Linked DNA regions of Homo sapiens: region 1 is linked to region 2. The links are contacts of gene promoters, found by promoter capture Hi-C in human tissues and cell types (Jung and others, 2019). All regions are on one chromosome and are shown on one strand. Each heading gives the region's core, a stretch centred on a gene start or on the middle of the fragment in contact. The rest is flanking DNA. Distances are from core to core; before and after follow the strand shown. Region 1 has its middle 85 kb from the start of MIR2113. Region 2 holds the start of POU3F2 (POU class 3 homeobox 2).

Region 1 (4,073 bases), core at 250-2,749, 720 kb after region 2:
ATTACTAAAGCCTCTCAACTGCTCCAGCTCTCACGTTGCCCCCCTCCAAACTATACCTAGCTGAAGCCAGAGGAATTCTGCAAAAATGTAAAGTGCACCAATGCACTTTTATGCTCATAGTTCTCCATCCTACTCAGGGTAAAAGACAAAGACTTCCTAACGTAAGAAGTTATAACTAACCTGGTCACCTGTCACCTCTGAGTTTATCATCTATTCCTCTCTTTTTCACAAGCCGGGTCATTCTGCTAAAATCATATTTGCCTCTCCGTTGTCCTTTAAATAAACTAGGCATGCTCCCAACTCACATCCTTTGATGTTGTTCTTTCCACTGCCTCTTATAATCTCAACTTTAATATTCATAGGATTTGTTTCCCTTTTCCTTCAGGTCTTAACTAACCCACTACCTTCCCAGAGCATTCTTCTCTAGGTATGCTGTCTAAAATTGTGTACACACACACACACACACACACACACACACACGTCATACTTCCTATAACACTACCCTAGTTATTATCTACTGCACTTATCACTATCTGACATATTGCAAATTGTATTGTTTTCTTTAATGTATAATTTACGTTTTCCATCTTATATTTTACTTTCTACCTATTAATTTTTCTCATTTAGAATGTGAGCTCCTGAGGGCAAGTTTTTCTTCTTCAGTTCTGTTTACAGCTGTATCCCCAGGACCTAAAACAAGTCTATAACAAACAGGTGCCCGAAATGTATTTGCTGAATAAATTAAATGAATGAATTTTGACTTCATTTCAGTTGAAAGCATTACTCTATTTATCTAATTATAATAGTGAAATAATTTGTCCAAAAGTAATGCATAATATTCTAGTGAGAATGATTAGAAACAATGTAAGGGATCCTTATTTCTTTCTTTCTACCTTATATTACACCTCAAGTTTTTGGTCAATTTAATCTTTAGCTCTACAAAGTTTTCATTTTTATATTATCAAACAAGCCTATCAATTCTTTTCTGGCAACTGGATTCCTATTCTTGGTTAAGAAGGCACCTCGCAGATTCCAGGTTGCAAATATAATCTCCAAAGTATTTGTACAGATCCTTTCAAAAACACCTGAAATTTTTGTATATGTTGTATTACAGCAGTCCAACTTATTGATTAATTACTCCTATTTGTAATGCTATTTATTTAGACTTTCACCTATAGGTAGAAATACATATATTAGCCTAGACTTACATAGGGTCAGTATCATTGAGATACCACTAGGCTATATAATTTTTTCAGCTTCAGTATAATATTATAGGACCACCATCATATATGTAGTCCATCACTGACTAAAATATCACCATGCGATTCATGATTATATATATACAAGCATATCTCCTTTCATTGCACTTCACTTTAATGCACTTTGTTAGATACTGCATTTTTTACAAATTGAAGATTTGCAGTAACCCTGCATTGCGAAGTCCATTGGTGACATTTTTTCCAAGAGCATGTGCTCACTTTGCATCTCTGCATCACATTTTGGCAATTCCTGCAATATTTAAAACATTTTTATTTCTGTTATGGTAACCTATGATTGGTAATCTCTGATGTTACTATTGTCATTGTTTGGAGCACCACAAACTGCACCCATTTAAGTTGGCCAACTTAATCTATAAATGCTGTAAAAATTCTATGTGTTCTGACTGGTCTATTGACCAGCCATTCACTGCCTCTTTCCATCTTCTTGGACCTCTCTATTCCCTGAGACACAACAATATGGAAATGAGGCCAACACTTATAGCGTGTAAGTGTTCAAGTGAAAGGAAGAGTCACTCTAAATCAAAAGCTAGAAATGGGTAAGCTTAGTGAGGAAGGCATGTCAAAAGTCGAAACAGGGTGAAAGCTAGGCTGCTTTCATCAAACAGTTAGCCAACTTGTGAATGCAGAGTAAAAGTTATTGAAAGAAATTAAATGTGCTACTCCAGTGAACACAAGAATGAGAAGAAAGCAACACAGACTTATTGCTGATATGGAGAAGGTTTGAGTGATTGTCTTGATAGAAAACCAAACCAGCCAAAATATTCCTTTAAGACAAAGCCTAATCCAGAGCAAGCCCCCAACTCTTCAATTCTATGAAGGCAGATCGACGTGAGGAATCTGTAGAAGAAATGTTTGAAGCTAGTAGAGGATTGTTGATGAGATTTAAGGAAAGAAGCTATCTCCATAACATAAAAGTGCAAGGTGAAGCAGCAAGTGCTGATATAGAAGCTGCAGCAAATTATCCAGAAGAGTTATCTAAGATCATTGATAAAGGTGACTACACTAAACAACAGATTTTCAATGTAGATGAAACTGCCTTACATGTTGGAAGAGGATGTCATTTGGTTCTTTCATAGCTAGAAAGGAGAAGTCAACACCTGCCTTCAAAGCTTCAAAGAGCAGGCTGACTCTCTTGTTAGGGGCTAATGCAGCTGGTGACTAAGTTGAAGCGAATGCTCATTTACCATTCCAAAAATCCCAGGGCCCTTAGGAATTAGGCTAAATCTACTCTGCTCGTGCCTTATATATGGAAACAACGAAGCCTGTATGACAGCACATTTGTTGAAAGCAAGGTTTACAGAATATTTTAAGCTCACTGATGTTGAGACCTACCGCTCAAAAAAAAGATTTCATTCAAGCTATACTGTTCGTTAACAATGCACCTAATCACCCAAGAGCTCAGATGAAGATGTACGAGGAGATTAACTTTGTTTTCATGGCTGCTAACATAACAACCATTCAGCAGTCCATGAATCAAGGACTAATTTTTACTTCCAAGACTTAGTATTTAAGAAATACATTTTGTAGGGCTACAGCTGCCATAGAAAGTAATTCTTTCGATAGACCTGGGAAAAGTAAACTGAAACATTCTGGAAATAATACACCATTCTGGACATCATTAAGAACATTTGTGATTTATGGGAGGATGTCAAAATATCAATATTAACAGGAGTTTATAAGAAACTGATTCTAACCTTCATAAATGACTTTGAGGGGTTCAAGATTCAGTGGAGGAAGTAGTGGTAGATAGAACAAGAGAATTAGAATTGGAAGTGGGCCCAAAGATAAGGCTGAATTGCTATAATCTCATGATAAAACTCATAAGAAACTGCTTCTTATGGATGAGCAAAGAAACTGGTTTCTGAAGATGGAATCTGCTCCTGGTGAAGATGCTGTGAGCAGTGTTAATAAGACAACAAGGGATCTAGAATATTACACCATTTTAGTTGATAAAGGAGTGGCAGAGTTTGAGTTCCAGTTTTGAAAGTTCTACTTTGGGTAAAATGCTCTCAAGTAGCATTGCATATTACAGAGAAACTTTTTGTAAAAGGAAGAGTCAATTTATGGCAAACTTTGTTTTATTTTAAGAAATTGCCATACCCCACCCAACTTTCAGCAACCCTGATCAGTCAGCAGCCATCAATATCAAGGCAAGACCATCTACCAGCAATGAGATTACAACTTGCTGTAGGCTCAGATAATTGCTAGCATTTGTTAGCCATAAAGTTTTTTTTTTCTAAATGAAGTTAGGTACATTTTTTAGACATGATGCTATCATTACTCACTTAAAAGACAATAGTATAAAGTGAACATAACTTTTATATGCACTGGGAAACCAAAAACAATTGTGTAAGTTGCTTTCTTGCACTATTTACTTTATTCCAGTGGTCAGGAATGAAACCTGCAATATTTACACACTTTTATTTTTAATAAGTCTCCTGAAGTGTTTTTCTTTATACAATACCTATTAAATGAACAGCTTTGATTTTATTTATCATTTACTATTTTCTATATTTTACCTTATTAATTTAAAATTTTTAACTTTTATATGGTAAGCCCTCTTTCTACTTTATTTTGCACTGTTTTGTAACTATTTTTCTAATTTCATAAAATAATTTGTACATTTTTTTTTTTTTTGAGATGGAGTCTTGCTGTTGCCCAGGCTGCAGTGCAATGGTACCATGTCAACTCACTGCAACCTCCGCCTCCTGGGTTCAAGCGATTCTCCCGTCTCAGCCTCCCAGGTAGCTGGGATTACAGGCGTACACCACCACACCCAGCTAATTTTTATAT
Region 2 (4,332 bases), core at 366-2,865:
GCACCCCGTGGTGTGGTGGAGTGTCCCTACTCCCCCCGTACACATCCTCGGCGCCCGGCAGAGTCCCTCCGGGAGGGGTCATCCTTTTCTCTTTCTGTCTCCTGTTACAAAACCAAACTCTCACCACCTCCTTCTCCAGCTGTAAGCTGTCCGCGAGGGAGGTGATCTCCTGGGCCGAGGGCTTGGGGCATTTGAGGAAATGGCTCTCCAGAGCCCCCTTGACGCTCACCTCGATGGAGGTCCGCTTTTTCCGCTTGCGCCCTTGCGCTGCGATCTTGTCTATGCTCGTGGGGCTGCCCGAGGACGAGTCCGCCTCCTCCAACCACTTGTTCAACAAAGGCTTCAGCTTGCACATGTTCTTGAAGCTCAGCTGCAGGGCCTCAAACCTGCAGATGGTGGTCTGCGAGAACACGTTGCCATACAGGGTGCCCAGAGCCAGCCCCACGTCCGCTTGGGTAAATCCCAGTTTGATCCGCCGCTGCTTGAACTGCTTGGCGAACTGCTCCAGGTCGTCCGAGGTCGGCGTGTCCTCGTCCGAGTGCGGGTCGTGGTGCGCGCCTGGGTGGCCAGGCGGACCCTGCGGGGGCGGCGGGGGCGGCGGCTGCTGGTGTGGGTGCGAGTGCGGGTGCGGGTGGTGGTCGGCATGGTGTGGCTCGTCGTGCGCGTCCCGCAGGCCGTGGTGGTGCAGACCGGCCGGCTGCCCGCCGGCGCCCAGCATGCCGTTCACCGTGAAGCTGGGCTGCGAGTAGAGCAAGCCGCCGTTGGACGCTCCCATGGAGGGTGGGAGGTGCGCTGCAGCCGCCGCGCTCCGCCATGCCCCGGGTCCCGGGTGGTGGTTAGCGGCGTGGTGCACCAGATGCGGCGGCCGCTGTTGCTGCTGCTGCTGCTGCTGTTGCTGCTGTTGCTGCTGCTGTTGCTGTTGCTGCTGCTGATGCTGCTGCTGCAGGGCGCCTGGCCCGTGCAGCTCGTCTCCGCGGCCGCCCTGCTGCACCACCACCGAGGGCTTGATGTCCGGCTGGCCCAGGGGGCTGGTGGACCACGGGGAGCCGTCGCCGCCGCCCCCGCCGCCGCCCCCGCCCCCCCCGCCGCCGCCACCGCCCCCGCCGCCGCCGCCGTGGGACAGCGCGGTGATCCACTGGTGAGCGTGGCTGAGCGGGTGTCCGTTGCTCTGCAGAGCGCCGTAGTCGCCCTGCACCAGGCTCTGCGCTTCGCGGTAGCCCCCCGCGCCCTGCTGCATGCCGCCGGGCGGCTCGGCGTGCACGATGGAGGCGCTGGAGGTGAGCAGGCTGTAGTGGTTAGACGCTGCGGTCGCCATGACTCTCGGAGCCGGACTGAGCGCTCCGGTTAAAGGAGCCGCGCATTTGACAGTTACTTTTTCGCCTCGGGCTCCCTCTCCTCGCTCGCTCTTTCTGTCTCCTCTCTCTCCCACAGCGGGCAGCTCCGACGCCCGCTCCGACGCCTTCTGTTGCTGCTCCTGCTATTACTGCTGCTGCTGCCGCCGCCGCCGCCTCCCGCCCGCCCTCGCTCTCTTTCTCCTCCTCTCCCTCCTTCTCGCTCTCGCTCACTCTCTGACTAGCTCGGCGCTCCCCCCTCTCCCTGCTCTCTCCAGCTCTCTCCCGCTCTCTTGGCAGCGCCGGCTCGCAGCGGCACGCGCCTGGGCCCCGCCCCCTCCGCCCCCTCCCATTGGCTCCGCGCCCTTTGATTTACGTGGATACCGCTAGCAACCTCCCAGGCCGGCGCCACTGATTGGCGCAGAGCTACTCCCTCCCCCTCCCCCGGGCTCGGAGTCCTCCTAGCCCTCCTCCCCGTCCCCTTCGCCTCCCGATTCAGATTCTCTCAGTTCTCACCCCCCCGCTTCTTCCTCACCCGGGGCCTCCTCCGCCCTCTCTCGGATGGGCCCCGCCCCCCATCTGTCTCCCAGGCAGAGAAGACCGGCAGGGGGGCGGTCCCGGTGCTCTTATCGGCCACAGACACTTGGAAGACTTGGATTGGGGTGGGGGGCGGGAGGCAGTGGTGTCCACTTTCGTTTCCCAATAGGGCTTTAAGATGGGGAAACGGAGGGGGTAAGGGAAAAGCTGGGTCGCACCGAGCCAGCGGGAGTCGGATTTTTATTCACCTAGGGACACACACACAGTGTGTATCTCTTAAACCTAGAGCCAAGAGCCAGACCTGTTCCCCTGTTCAACTCTCCTTGCATCCCACGGTTAGAATTTCAGTGCACAAGTGTCTCTTGCTCCAGGGTGTGCGGACACTTCGGCCCAAAGCTCTTCTCCTTCCCCTCTACCCCGCGGCTAGCACAGGCTCTCTTCCTTTTAGGTTCCAGGCCCAATTGTCTCCCACTCCCTTGGGGAAAGAACCCCGAGAGAGGCAGGCTCAGCCCGCACCGCGGCTTGTAAGTCATTCCCATCAAGGCTCGGAGTTGCTTGCTCTGACAGCGTAGCGGTCTGAACTGAAAACCAAACAAAACTCTAAAAGTCTCTCCGTCAGATTCACACGCCGGCGCGTGCAGTTTTTGGTTTAGAAAACTAGAAGCCTGCGTGGGCTCCGTCTTGTGCGAGGCTGCCGGAGTGCTGGCGAGGGGTGTGCGGCCTTGTAGGGGCGGCGCAGTCGCCAAAGGCCGCTCCGGGAAGCCGCGCGGAGGGCCTGCGTGCGCGATTCCCCGTGCTCCTACCGCTGGTAGGTGCAACTTTTCCGTTAGCCCCTTGGGAAGGAGGAAGAGTGTGTGAAGCAAATGGGCTGATGCCAGGGGAACCTTCCTAATCAGTAACTTCGGTGGGCGCTAGCGGGTGGGGTTAGTCTATGTCTTTGGCGCTCCCTGGCCAAGCTCCCAGCTCAGCTTTCAGCAGTGAACTCCAGAGCAAGACTATGGGACCATGCACCCGCAGCGCCGCTCTACGGAGCGCGGGCGCGTCGCGCCATCAGTTCTTTAGCCGCCCAGAGCAGGTGCCGCCTGCGAGTTTCCGAGCCTGCAAGCCCGGTAGCTAGAACTTGGGCGCGGACCCAGGCTGGAGCGGCGTGACCGCCACGCAGGGCCGGGTGTGTACATGGGCGCTGTAAAGCGAATCAACAGTTACTGCCGGGAAGGGAATGACAGACCCCAGGGAACCTGGATCGCGTCCCCACCTCTCACCCCTCGCTCTATCGCTGGTTTTGCCGGCGGTCGTAGGCTTGAGAGGGCAGCCAAATCAACGCTCAGAGGGAGCATTTTGGGGCCTCTGAGCATCTGAATCCAGACAGCAGACTGGAGCGGGCCAGAAAATTCATCATGACTAACAAGGAGTCATGCTCTTTGGAGAGTGGCTGAGCTGTTTATAAATCACCACGTTGAGCACCCGCCCGGGCAAGACGCTTTGGCTGAGAATTTCCACGTGTCCTGTGTTTATGAGCGTGTGTGGGGGAGAGAAATGGATAGGGGAGGGGCGAGCCCACAGGCCGCCAGCAGGACGGACCTGCACCCCCACCACGCGCGCACCCGCGCGGCGAGGCGAGGCGAGGACACACACAGCGTGTCGCTCCGTCCCAGCGCAAGCGCGGGGCCACTCTGGCCGCGCGCCTGGGGGCTGCTAGGAATCCCATAACTTTGTCTAGCTAGGAAAAAATGAACAAGTCCGAGCCTCAGCGCGCAGACTCAGCGACTGGTGCCCGCGGCTCCGCAACCGCGAGCCAAGGGGCTGGGTGGCGGGCAGAACCGCCTTCTCCCGGCTTCGGCCCTGCGTCCCCTGTGCTAGGCGCGTGACTTTCCCTGGGCCTTGGGGAGCGCACAGACAGCCCGCCAGCCGCATCTTCTCCTGACATGTCGTGCCTTTCTTTTCGCGGACCTGGAGCTCAGAGCTCCCACGGACAGAAGAATCCAGCCCTGGGGAAGGGCCGCGTCCAAGTGCTAAGCAGCTCATACTTCTCCCCCACCTTTCTGGGGCAGGTGTCTGCTTTTCTCTGGATTTAATTTCACATTTCTCGAGGCACAAGGCCTTCTGCAGCCCATAGGATGATACACTCGAAAGAAGAATGAAGTTTTCAAACACATCTTCGAAGGAACTGAGGCGGCCTGGCTCTGAATCAATTTAAAAGTTCCTCCTCCTCTTATCTTTCTCTCCACACCCCACCCCACACCCCCGCCCTCCTCCCGGCATAGGGCGCTAGTGTGAGGGGACAAGAATAGGCTGCACGTGTACATCAAAACTTCCTGTCTGCGATAGGACATCACCGGCGATTAATGCTGAGATCCTTCCCACGTTGACTTCCCAGGTCTCAACTCCAACTTCCATCCCCGTCTCATTTCGCTGGCGGCCAAGGAGCCGAAACGTTCCCAACAGGGTTTAATATACCCAATAA

The links. The method cuts DNA at HindIII sites, captures the fragments that hold promoters and counts their contacts. A contact is called where the count stands out against the background at its distance.
Region 1: a fragment that was not itself captured here is called in contact with the fragment with the promoter of POU3F2 in region 2 in 2 of the 25 tissues and cell types used here (mesendoderm cells and neural progenitor cells).

The regions. Positions count from the first base shown.
Region 1 is chr6:98,107,513-98,111,585 of GRCh38, reverse strand. No RefSeq gene overlaps it. Among named protein-coding and RNA genes, the nearest start is that of MIR2113, 85 kb to the right of the region's middle. The HindIII fragment of the contact is 5,005 bases long and covers 1-4,001 here.
Region 2 is chr6:98,831,857-98,836,188 of GRCh38, reverse strand. POU3F2 (POU class 3 homeobox 2) reads right to left here and starts at 1,615. Exons shown (of 1, transcript NM_005604.4): 1 at 1-1,615. The coding sequence starts at 1,315. RefSeq lists enhancers at 1-301, 302-898, 897-966 and a silencer at 1,605-1,674. The HindIII fragment of the contact is 21,173 bases long and covers 1-4,332 here.